Linked DNA regions of Homo sapiens: all the other regions are linked to region 4. The links are contacts of gene promoters, found by promoter capture Hi-C in blood cells and fetal thymus (Javierre and others, 2016). All regions are on one chromosome and are shown on one strand. The core of a region is centred on a gene start or on the middle of the fragment in contact, and the rest is flanking DNA. Distances in the headings are between cores, read along the strand shown.

Region 1 (2,701 bases), core at 42-2,541, 2.7 Mb after region 4:
AAATAAAGTTTTCCTTGCCTTTAAATTTGTTGGTGCCGTTTTGGCTTCAACACCAGTGTGGAGGCTGGACGACACTCCCATTGTCTCAGCAACGGGATGTCTCTATCTACAACGGTCCACCTCAGCTCTCCCTTTCCTCAGGATAAGTCCCTTCTCCTTTGAGGGCATAGCAGTGAAGAAAAGACCACTCTTTCACTGTAGCTTTGATGTTTTAGCTCTGGAGGTCCACAGGCATTATGGACTCCAGTCAGATGTATTTCCTGTGAAAGAACAAGCGTACCTTGGAAATATTGTGAGTTCAGTTTGAGGCCACCACAATGAAGTGAACATTACAATAAAGAAGGTCACAGAAATTTTTCGGTTTCCCATTGCATATAAAAGTTACATTTAACTATACTCTAGTCTGTCTACTAAGTGTGCAATAACATTATATCTATCTTAACGAGAAATGCATATACCTTAATTTAAAAATACTTTCTTACAAAAATGCTAATTACCATCTGAGCTTCAACAAGTCATCATCTTTTTGTTGGTGGAGGATTTATGTGATGGCTGCTGACTGATCAGGCTGGTGGTTGTTGAAGGTTGGGGTAATTGTGGCAATTTTTAAAAATAAGACAATGGAGTTTGCCACACTGATTAACTCTTCCTTTTATGAAAGATTTCTCTGGAGCATGGGATGCTGTTAAAAGCATTTTACTGCAGTAGAACTTCTTTCAAAATTGAAGTCATTTCTCTCAAACTCCATTGCTGCTTTATCAACTAAATTTATACATTATCCTAAGTCCTTCATTGTCACTTCATCAATGTGTATGGCATCTTCACTTGGGGGTAGGCTCCATCTGAAGAAACTACTTTCTTTGCTAATTCATAAGAAGCAATTTATCCATTTAAGTTTTATCATGAGATTTCAGCAATTCAGTCACATCTTTGGGCTCCACTTCTAAATCTAGTTATCTTGCTAGTCCTAGGTGGCACCTTCTTTCATTATAAAGCTGTTTTGTCTACATGAAAAATCTGTTGTTTAGTGTAGCTACCTTCATCAATTATCTTAGCTAGATCTTTTGAATAACTTACTGAAGCTTCTACTTCACACTTGCTCCATCATCTTGTACTTTTATGTTATGAAGACGGGTTATTTTCTTAAACCTCATGAACTAACATTTGCTACCTTCAAAGTTTTCTTCTGCAGCTTCCTCACCTCTTGCAGCCTCGATAGAATTGAAGAGTTGGTGCCTTGCTCCACATTAGGCTTTGGCTTAAGGGAGTGTAGTGGCTGGTTTGATCTTCTATCCAGACCACTAAAATATTCTATCAGCAATTTCACTGAAACAGCAAAAGTTGTTTCACTTTCTTATCATTTGTGTGTTCACTGGTGTAGCACTTTTAATTTTCTTCAAGAAGATTTCCTTTGCCACCACAATTTTGCTAACAGCATGGCACAAGAGGCCCAGCTTTTGGCCTATCTCAACTTTTGACATGCTTTTTTCACTAAGCTTAATCATGTCTAGCTTCTGATTGTATGTGAGAGATGTATGACAATTCCTTTCCTGTGAACAATTAAAGGCCATTGTAGGGCCTCTAATTATTCATTGACCCAATTTCATCATTGTTGTGCCTCAGGACATAGAGAGGACTGAGGAGAGAGAGAGACAGGGGGGAACAGCTGGCCAGTGGAGCAGTCAGAACATACATAACATTTATTAAGTTCTCTGTCTTATATGGGCACAGTTCATGGAGCCCCAAAACAATTACAACAGTAACACTGAAGATCACTGACCACAGATCACCATGAGATAGAATAATTTTTTAAAAAGTTTGAAATATTGCATGAATTATGAAAATGTGACACAGAGATACAAAGTGGGTACATGCTATTGGAAAAATAGTCCTGATAGACTGGCTGGATGCCCTGCCAGGGTTGCCATGGCCTTTAATTAGTTTTAAAAATGCAATAACTGTGAGGCACAATTAAGTGAAGCAAAATAAAATGAAGTATGCCTGTAAGTAGTTCAATATTCAAATCAATTTCTAGTTAGCACACAGTGTGAACATTCAAGGCAAGCCTAGACATTGACAAATGTATCATGTGAATGCGGCTTAGGCTGTCACTCTGGGAACATTGCTATAAAAATAGAAAGGAGCTCTGAATTAGCAAGAAATTCAGTAAGCCTCAACAGAGGAAGCCTTGCAAATAACATTTAATTTTATAAAATAATATAGTCTAAATTTTCTTTAATATTGACCAAATCCATTATTATACAAGAAGGGGACAGACAAAAGTCTACTAGCATGAAAAGACATTAATAGTTGGCTGCAGACATGTGAGATAAATAAACGTCTTTCTCCTCCAATCTGTAAGATGATGTTATACTCATTCAGAATTGTCTATAAAAATATTATATCACTTCTGTACTGTATCTACCAAATATTTGTGGAGCATAAAGCTCTGCAAATAAAATGGCATTCAGAGATGCCATGACACAAGAGGCACGTAATTCTTGTGACACCTCATGGTGCCTTTAACATTATTCATGTCCAAACATTGTTCCTAATAGTAATCAGTTATGAAGTCAGTTCTAAGTAGTTTAAGTCTGGCTGGCGATAAAGAGATAAATGCAAATGATTTGCATTCCACTATACTTTGGACTTGAAATGGCAGATTTGCCAGTGGTTTATGGTAATCATAACTCAGCATCTC
Region 2 (2,854 bases), core at 322-2,821, 2.1 Mb after region 4:
TTATATAATGTTAAAGGGTATGATCCAAAAAGAGGACTTAACTATCCTAAATATATATACTCAACATTAGAGCCCCAGATCCATAAAACAAGTTGTTCTTGCCCTCTGTGAAGACTTAGCAGCCACACAATACTAGTGGAGACTTACAACAGCCCACTAACCATGTTAAACAGATCATTGAGGCAGAAAATTAAGAAACTCTGGACTTAAACGCAACACTAGATGAATTCGACCTAATAGACATCATCACAACAATCCACTGAAAAATCACAAAGTATACATTTTTCTCATCTGCACACATTTTAGATTGGTATTTTAAGATAGGTATTTTAAGATTGACCACATATTTGATCATAAAGCAAGTCTCAATAAATACAAAAAATTTTAAATCATAGCAAGTACACTCTAGGACCATAGTACAGTAAAAATAGTAATCATTAGGACATCTCTCAAAACTGCACAAATATACAGAATTTAAATGATCTGATCCTGAATAATTCCTAGGGAACTTCAAAATTAAGAAAGAAATCAAGAATTTTTTAATTAATGAGAACAAAGATACAACATATTGGAATCTCTGGGACACTGCTAAACCATGTTAAGAGGAAAGTTTATAATGCTAAATGCTCATATCAAAAACTTACAAAGATCTCACAATAACCTAATATCACACTTAAAGTATCTAGAAAACAAAAAGCAAACCAACCCCAAAGCTAGCAGGAGAAAAACAACTAAAATTAGAGATGAAATGAAAAAATTGAGATGCAAACAACCATACAAAAGATTGATTAAACCAAGAGTTGTTCCTTCAAAAAAAAAATGATAGCTAGATTATCAAAAACAGAAGAGATCCAAATAGTGCAATGTTAAATGACAAAGATGACATTACAACTCATACCAGAAAACTACAACAGATCTTCAGAGAATACTGCAAACAACTCTATGCACATAAATTGTAAAATTTAGAGGAAATGAGTAAATTCCTGGAAAAAATACCATCTCCCAAGATTGCATCAGGAAGAGATTGAAACCCTTAATAGACCAATATTGAGTTCTGAAATTGAATTAATAATAAACAACCTACCAATCGAACAAACAAAAATCCATTAAACAGATGGATTTAGAGCCAAATTGTATCAGGCTTACAAGAACTGATACCAATCCTATTGAAACTATTCCAAAAAATCAAGGAGGAGGGGCTTCTCCCTAAGTCAATATATGAAGCCAGCCTCAACCTGATACCAATATCTGGCAGAGACACAACAAAAAAAGGAAACCTTAGGCCCATGTCCCTGATGTACCTAAACACAAAAATCCTCAGTAAAATACTAGCAAAATGAATCCAGCAGCAGACCAGAAAGTTAAAACACCACGTTCAAGTAAACTTTATTCCTTGTTCAACATATGTAAATCAATAAATGTAATTCACCACATATACAAATCAAAAGCAAAAATGATATAGTCATCTCAATAGATGTAGAAATAAGTTTTGATAAAATCCAGTATACCTTCACGATAAAAATCCTCAATCGACTAGGCATCCAAGGAACATACCTCAAAAAAATAAGTCATCTATGACACATCCACAGTCAAAATCATTTTGAATAGCTAAAAGCTGGAAACATTCCCCTTGAGAACTGGAACAAGATAAGGATGATCATTCTTACCACCCCAATCAACATAATACTCAATATTCTAGTTAGCGCAATCAGGCAAGTGAAAGAAACAAAAGGCATCCAAATAGGAAAAAAAGAACTCAAATTATCTTTCTTCACTGATAGTATGATTCTATAGCCAGAATACCCTAAAGACTCTGCCAAAAGGTTACTAGCATCGATAAATAACTTTATAAAATTTCAGGCTACAAAATCGATGTATGAAAATCAGTAGCATTTTTATACACTAGTAACATTCATGGGAGAACCAAATCAAGAACACAATCTCATTTACAATATCCACAAAGAAAAGACCTGGGAATGTATCTCACCAAGGAGATAAAAGATTTCCACGAGGAGATCTACAAAACAATGGTGAAAGAAATCAGAGTCAACACACACAAAACATGGAAAAACATTTCATGCTCATGGATTATAAGAATCTATATTATTTAAATGATCATATTGCCCAAAGTAATTTATTGATTCAATGCTGTTCCTATCACTCTACCAATGTTATTCACAGGATTAGCAAAACTATTCTAACATATAAAAACAAAAAAGAGCCCAAATAGCCAAAGCAATCCAAAGCAAAAGAACAAAGACAGAGGCATCACACTACCTGAATTCAAACTATACCATAAGGCTAAAATAACCAAAACAGCATGGTCCCAGTACAAAAACAAACACATAGACCAATGGAACAGAAGAGAAAACTCAGAAATAAGCCATCTGATCTTCAAGGCAAACTAAAACAAGCAATGGGGAAAGGACTTCCTATTCAAGAAATGGTTCTGGGATAACTGGATACCTATATTCAGAAGAATGAAACTGCTTATCTTTCATTATAGTCAAAAAATTAATTCAGGGTGAATTAAAGTTTTAAATTTAAGATCTAAACTCTAAAAATCCTAGAAGAAAACCAAAAAATACCCTTCTCAACATTGGTCTTGGCATAGAATTTTTGGCTAAGTCCCCAAATGCATTTGCGACAAAAACAAAAATCAACAAGTGGGACCTAATTAAACTAAAGAGCTTCTGCACAGCAAAAGAAACTATCAAAAGAGTAAACAGACAACCTACATAATGAGAAAAAATACTCACAAACTATGCTTCTGACAAAGGTCTAATATCCGGAATCTATAAAAAACAAATACCAAGTAAAAAACATGAATAGATGTTTATCAAAAGAAGACATA
Region 3 (2,724 bases), core at 185-2,684, 2.0 Mb after region 4:
AGTCATAGCATCATAAAATCTAATGTTAAAAAAGTCTTAATAGAAAGCTTAGAGGGCTTAGCCTGACTGGAGAAATAGACTCTTTAGTACCTCTTACAGAATCTTATTATTTTCAATGTAGAGCATTCACAGGCAATATATTTCCTTATTACACAGCTCTAAGTGTTTAAAAAAATTATTTTGAACTATCCTCTGAGGTTCACAGAGAAAAAAAACATAAATATGTGGCCTATAGGAATATCCAGCTGAACGCTTTCCATTTTTGAGACACCAGGCTAATCACTTTAAGTGCATTACTTTAGTTAAATATATCCAAAGCTCTATAAGATAGATATTATTATCATTTCTATTTTACAACTAAGGAAATGGGGATTTCAAGAGCCTCAAATTGCCATAAGGCAAACAGTTAGTAACTTGATTTTAACTCATGTATATGTGCATCTTAAGTATCTGATCTTAATTTACAACCAATGGTGCAATTCATAAATAATTAAACAAATATTTTGAATGCCATTTGAATATTTACTATTCGCTTCCTCGTGGGGAAAGGAACTATCACTTAGACTCAATTTAAATAAGTGACGAATAAAAATGGAAATTACAACTTGAACAACCTCACATAGCTAAGACACAGTGGAATTGATACTTTACAAAAAGTGATTAGAAACTATATTTCAAGACAAACATAACTTCAAAGAAACAGAAAACAAAAGGTAAAGAGATGAAAAATTAATTATATTAGTTGGTTAGTCAATCAGGTGATTACTCTTTTAATTACATCTAAACACAACTTTGAATATGATGTATCAATGATAATGTAAAGAATAGAAATTATTCTCTAAAATAATTTCAACCATTTAAATGGATATCTTTCCAAATAGTCAATGCTTTTAGTTAATTTTTAGTTAATTTTTTAGTATATCACACATACTACTGTTAGAATAAATTAATAGACTATTTTTGATATATTGTTTCACTGAATGTTTCCTACATGTAGCATCTCATTTAATTATAACAAACCATTTTACCAACAACTGCTATCCTGACATTTGCCATGTCATATATAATTATTAATGTTTTCAATTATAATATGTTCTACAATAAAAGAAAAGGAAGATCTGAGGAACTGTTTTATATAATAGATGTCTCAGAAAGATAACAGGTAAATGCAGTAAGTGATTCTGGATTAGCTCCAGGATTGGAAAAACAAAAGAAATTTAAAACACAATATTGGAACAATAAAATAAATTTGTATACAGGATCTAATATGGATAATAGCATGGCATTTATATTAAATATCTTGATTTTGATAGCTATATTGTGGTATATAATAGAAAAACCTCAATCTTAGTAAATACATAGTGAAGTACTAAGGAATAAATGAGTACTATGTTCCTAACTTACACTCAAATGATTTTAAAATATATACACAAAATCATATACTCTTAGAGTGAGGAAGAAAGTGAGAGAAGAGAGAAAACAGAAAAAAGAGAATAATGATAAATGGGAAACTTTATAATTGGTGGCTCTGGATAAAGGATATATGATTTATATACACTATTTTTGTAACTTTTCTATAAGTCTAAAATTATATCAATAATTTACATGTGCACACACACACATACAATGAGTTACTCTTGGTATCTTATTATGTATAAAATTAAGCTATCAATGCCTTGCTTCTTACAATATTGAGAGAATTAAATAAAATAACCTATCTAGTGAAATAGTGTTATGTGTTGAAATAGCAAGTGTTCTGTATGTTTATTTTACAATTAAATAAATAATGATTGAATAAGTAATTTATCAAAGAGAACATTGCCAGAAAATAGCACAGCTATGCCTTAGAATGCATGTTTACCAATCTCATAACCAGTGTAATTATTTTAAAATTTAATTTGATGCTGGAAAATCTGTACACAAAAAGAGTGATATAATTCATTGAAGAGAATGAGTTAATCATTTTGTGATGTTCTGCACATTTTGCTTGATTTATTGCTGTCTAGGTTATTCCAAATAGAATTAGTAAATAATGACAGGTTTCTCAATATTTTAAATACTTTCGTTAATTCACTAGAACCAATTTTGAAACAATTACCTGAAGATACTACTAGCATTGTGTCATACTTTCCTCCATTTAATGGCATATGTAAAAATAAGAAACAAAACAAAAATGAGAATAAATAAAACTGACCAACATAATCTAAAATTCTAGCATGAAATATTTTACTATTATTCTAATTCCTGGTTTTAATTAAAATGAATTTTGTAAGTAAGTTATCTGCAGTATAAGAATACTATTTTGTATATAACCAGTCATTTTTATATCTAAAATATAAATATACTTCTTGTTATCTAGTTCCAGTCTATATTAAATTTTCTCAGATACATGTGCATGCATGTATGTGTTCATGTGTGTATCATAATGTTTTTCAGTTTTTATAGGATTACTCTACTTTTTCTCATTACATTTTTCACAGGATGGATTTTTCCTAACTGAACAATTTACTGATGTAAACCACACCTTTTCATTAGCATGTTGAAAACAAATTCTTTGAATCAGAGAAAGATAATAAATATTAAATATGTCAGTTTAGGACAAAAAAAAACAAACTAAAAGAGAAACCAAGGAAAATTAGATATATGAGATCACATACAAAAGCAGTGAAATTGTAAAGTGTAAGTTTGATATTATTAAGACTTAAATATACCTTAATTTGCAAT
Region 4 (2,888 bases), core at 183-2,682:
CAATTGGGTGGCAATATTGTGCAGGGATGCTGCACAACAACTATATATCCACTTCAAAGTGACTGAGAAAGGAGACAACAGAAAAGAAAGGAAGAGAAAGAAAATATACGGAGGAGAGGAGAGAGAGTAGCAGAATAGAGAGAGAGGACAAAATCAGAGGAGTAGAGAGAGACACACACATGGCAGGAGAGAGAAGAAAGAGAGACAGACAGAGAGAGAGACTGAGTGAGAGAGAGAGATTCATTTTAATGGACAGCATCAATATTTTTATAGGGCCAGTTTGCAGAACTGCTTACAGCTACAAACCCAGCAGACAAGGCACTATTAAGAAGGTTACATGAGCATGAAAATTCTACGTTGAAAAGAATGGGAATCTAATAGTTGGTTTTGCAAACACACAAGCTCTCGTGACAGTAGGTTTTGCAGTATCTAAATACAAAAGACAAGCTCTCTTGCCCCATTGAGGATATCGCATGCCCAAGGTTTTTCACATTTTCAATAAATGCAGATGTCTGCTCAGGACTTTCTTTACAGCCTCTTTGACCTCTTTATTCCTGAGGCTATAGATGATGGGATTTAACATTGGGCTTACCACTCCATAAGACAGCCCAATAATCTCATCAGATGTATTAGTGTTCTTTGACTTGGGTTTCATGTACATAAAAAGGGCTGAACCGTAGAATAAGATGACCACAATCGAGTGCGCTGAACAGGTAGAGAAGGCTTTCTTTCTTCCCTCAGCACAATTAATTCTCAGGATGGAAGAGAGAATAAACACATAGGAGATGAAAATTAACAGTAGAAGAATCACCAGTGAAACAATATTTGTCACTGTCATGATAAGCACATTGATGGTGATATCTGAACAAACAAGTTTTAGAAGGGCCAAAATTTCACAGGTAATATGATCAATGACATTATTCCCACAGAAAGGCAACATCATTGTCAGAACTGTTTGCAATAGGGAGGTCAGACAGCCTATGATCCAGGACCATGCAGCCATTTGCACATACAGCACTCCGTTCATGATGATGGAGTACCTCAGTGGGTTGCAGATGGCCACATAGTGGTCATAGGCCATCACAGCCAGGAGGACACACTCAGTGGAGCCCAAGCCAAGGGACACAACCATCTGCAGAGCACAGCCAATGAAGGAGATGGATTTTCTCTCAGACATAAATATAATAAGCATTGGAGGAATGGATGAGGATGTGTAACAGATGTCCAAGAATGAGAGGTTTCCAAGAAAGAAATACATGGGAGTATGGAGGCGAGAATCCAAGATGGTGATGATAATGAGGAGGCTATTTCCCAGGAGGATTATCATGTACATGATGAGGCAGAGCAGGAACAGAAAAAGCTGGAGCTCTGGATATTGGGAAAGCCCCACCAGAAAGAATTCAGTCATGGCAGAGTAATTTCTTGTCTCCATGTGTTCTAGGTCACCTGCCTGCTGGGTAGTATAGAAAAGGACATGATTCAGGTAAATTGAAATGTTTGATACATCAAAATCTGTAAATCTGTACATCTACAAATTTTCAATACAAATTTGCTTCCGATATTGTGTTTGATTCTTAGAATACTCTCAGTAAGCAAAACAGTATGGATATTGTACTAGTTTTATTGATTATGAAAATTGAGACATTGAGAAACCCAATATATCTTAGGACTACACAGCAGCACATTCAAAGCTACCAATACTGCCAGAATTATTCTGGGAAGTGTCAAATAAAGTTTAGGAACATGCTGCTTTCAAATGTAGAAAGAGATTTTGAACTTAAAGCTGTTTTTTTGATGAAGCTGGCCTCTATTTAAAAGATTTTATAGACTGCCAGTGACATATCATTTAACCTGGATGTAGCTTTGGTAAGTTGTTTATTTTTCTGAGTTGCAGATAGTTCATAGTAAGCTTGGAAAAAGCAATAATTATTTCTTAGAGTATAGTTAGAATTAGATAAAATATTAGGTGCCTAGAACCTAATGGTTCCAACATGGCATATGTGTGTGTGTGTGTGTGTATGCATATATGTAATATAATTATATTTACCTTATACAAGATATAATATTAAATGTATTTTTATACACATGCATTTTATGAATTATAGTATAATATTTAGATCTACCAATCTTAAAAGGGAAAAGTAGATTTAGCTTTTTAAAGGTAAAAGGTTTAAAGTTTGAAACCACACTTGACAGACTGTGAACATTTTTGTTCTCAGTGGGATATTTCATTGCACTTCTTTCAAAAACCTGTTAGGAGTCTGAGAATCATTGGAGGACTGTTCTAGAAGCTTCCAGAGATTAAGGAGTCTAGGTCCCAGCATGTACAGCTTTTTTTCCAGGCCCTGGGATTCTCTCTTCTTAAGTGTAGTATTACTGCCATTTTACAAAGTAGGAAACAGAGACAAAGAAAAGTTTAAGTAACTTTCTCAAGGTCATACAGATAGTAAATACTAAAGCCAGAATTCAATATCTAGCCATCTGGCTATAGAATCAGCCCTTTTACCCACCATACACTACTCTCTCTCAGTGGTTACTACACAGATTCCACGCAAGAGAAGACTATTACAAAAATGTATCTTCTGTTGGGGTACAGTGAGACAGCAAACATCATTTACTTGTGATTCTGATCATATGTGATGTGATGGAGAACTCTGAAGGCTGGACCACTTACTTTTTCCTGTAGCTTTTGATTGTGGTCTGCTCAGTTTTCTTTTCTTTTCTCTCGCTGTTTTTTTTTTTTTTTTTTTTTTTTAAGACGGAATCTTGCTCTGTTGCTTGGGCTGGAGTGCAATGGCGCGATCTCAGCTCACTGCAACCTCCACCTCCCACATTCAAGCGATTCTCCTGCCTCAGCCTCCCGAGTAGCTGAGATTACTGGCATGCTC

Evidence for each region. The method cuts DNA at HindIII sites, captures the fragments that hold promoters and counts their contacts. A CHiCAGO score of 5 or more calls a contact.
Region 1: a fragment that was not itself captured here is called in contact with the fragment with the promoter of OR13D1 in region 4 in 2 of 17 cell types (M2 macrophages and M0 macrophages); the score reaches 12.0 in M2 macrophages.
Region 2: a contact is called between a fragment that was not itself captured here and the fragment with the promoter of OR13D1 in region 4, in 1 of 17 cell types (M0 macrophages). The highest score is 5.4, in M0 macrophages.
Region 3: a contact is called between a fragment that was not itself captured here and the fragment with the promoter of OR13D1 in region 4, in 1 of 17 cell types (M2 macrophages). The highest score is 6.7, in M2 macrophages.

What each region holds. Positions count from the first base shown.
Region 1 is chr9:101,980,762-101,983,462 of GRCh38, reverse strand. No RefSeq gene overlaps it. Among named protein-coding and RNA genes, the nearest start is that of GRIN3A, 240 kb to the right of the region's middle. The HindIII fragment of the contact is 414 bases long and covers 1,085-1,498 here.
Region 2 is chr9:102,627,337-102,630,190 of GRCh38, reverse strand. The region is part of intron 3 of LINC00587 (long intergenic non-protein coding RNA 587); the gene reads right to left. Among named protein-coding and RNA genes, the nearest start is that of LINC00587, 110 kb to the right of the region's middle. The HindIII fragment of the contact is 4,148 bases long and covers 1-2,854 here.
Region 3 is chr9:102,647,317-102,650,040 of GRCh38, reverse strand. All of the region lies in intron 4 of LINC00587 (long intergenic non-protein coding RNA 587), which reads right to left. Among named protein-coding and RNA genes, the nearest start is that of LINC00587, 130 kb to the right of the region's middle. The HindIII fragment of the contact is 2,770 bases long and covers 50-2,724 here.
Region 4 is chr9:104,693,062-104,695,949 of GRCh38, reverse strand. It overlaps OR13D1 (olfactory receptor family 13 subfamily D member 1), which reads right to left and starts at 1,432. Exons shown (of 1, transcript NM_001004484.2): 1 at 488-1,432. The coding sequence starts at 1,432. The coding sequence ends at 488. All of the region lies in intron 1 of LOC107987105 (a long non-coding RNA gene), which reads left to right. The HindIII fragment of the contact is 5,977 bases long and covers 1-1,911 here.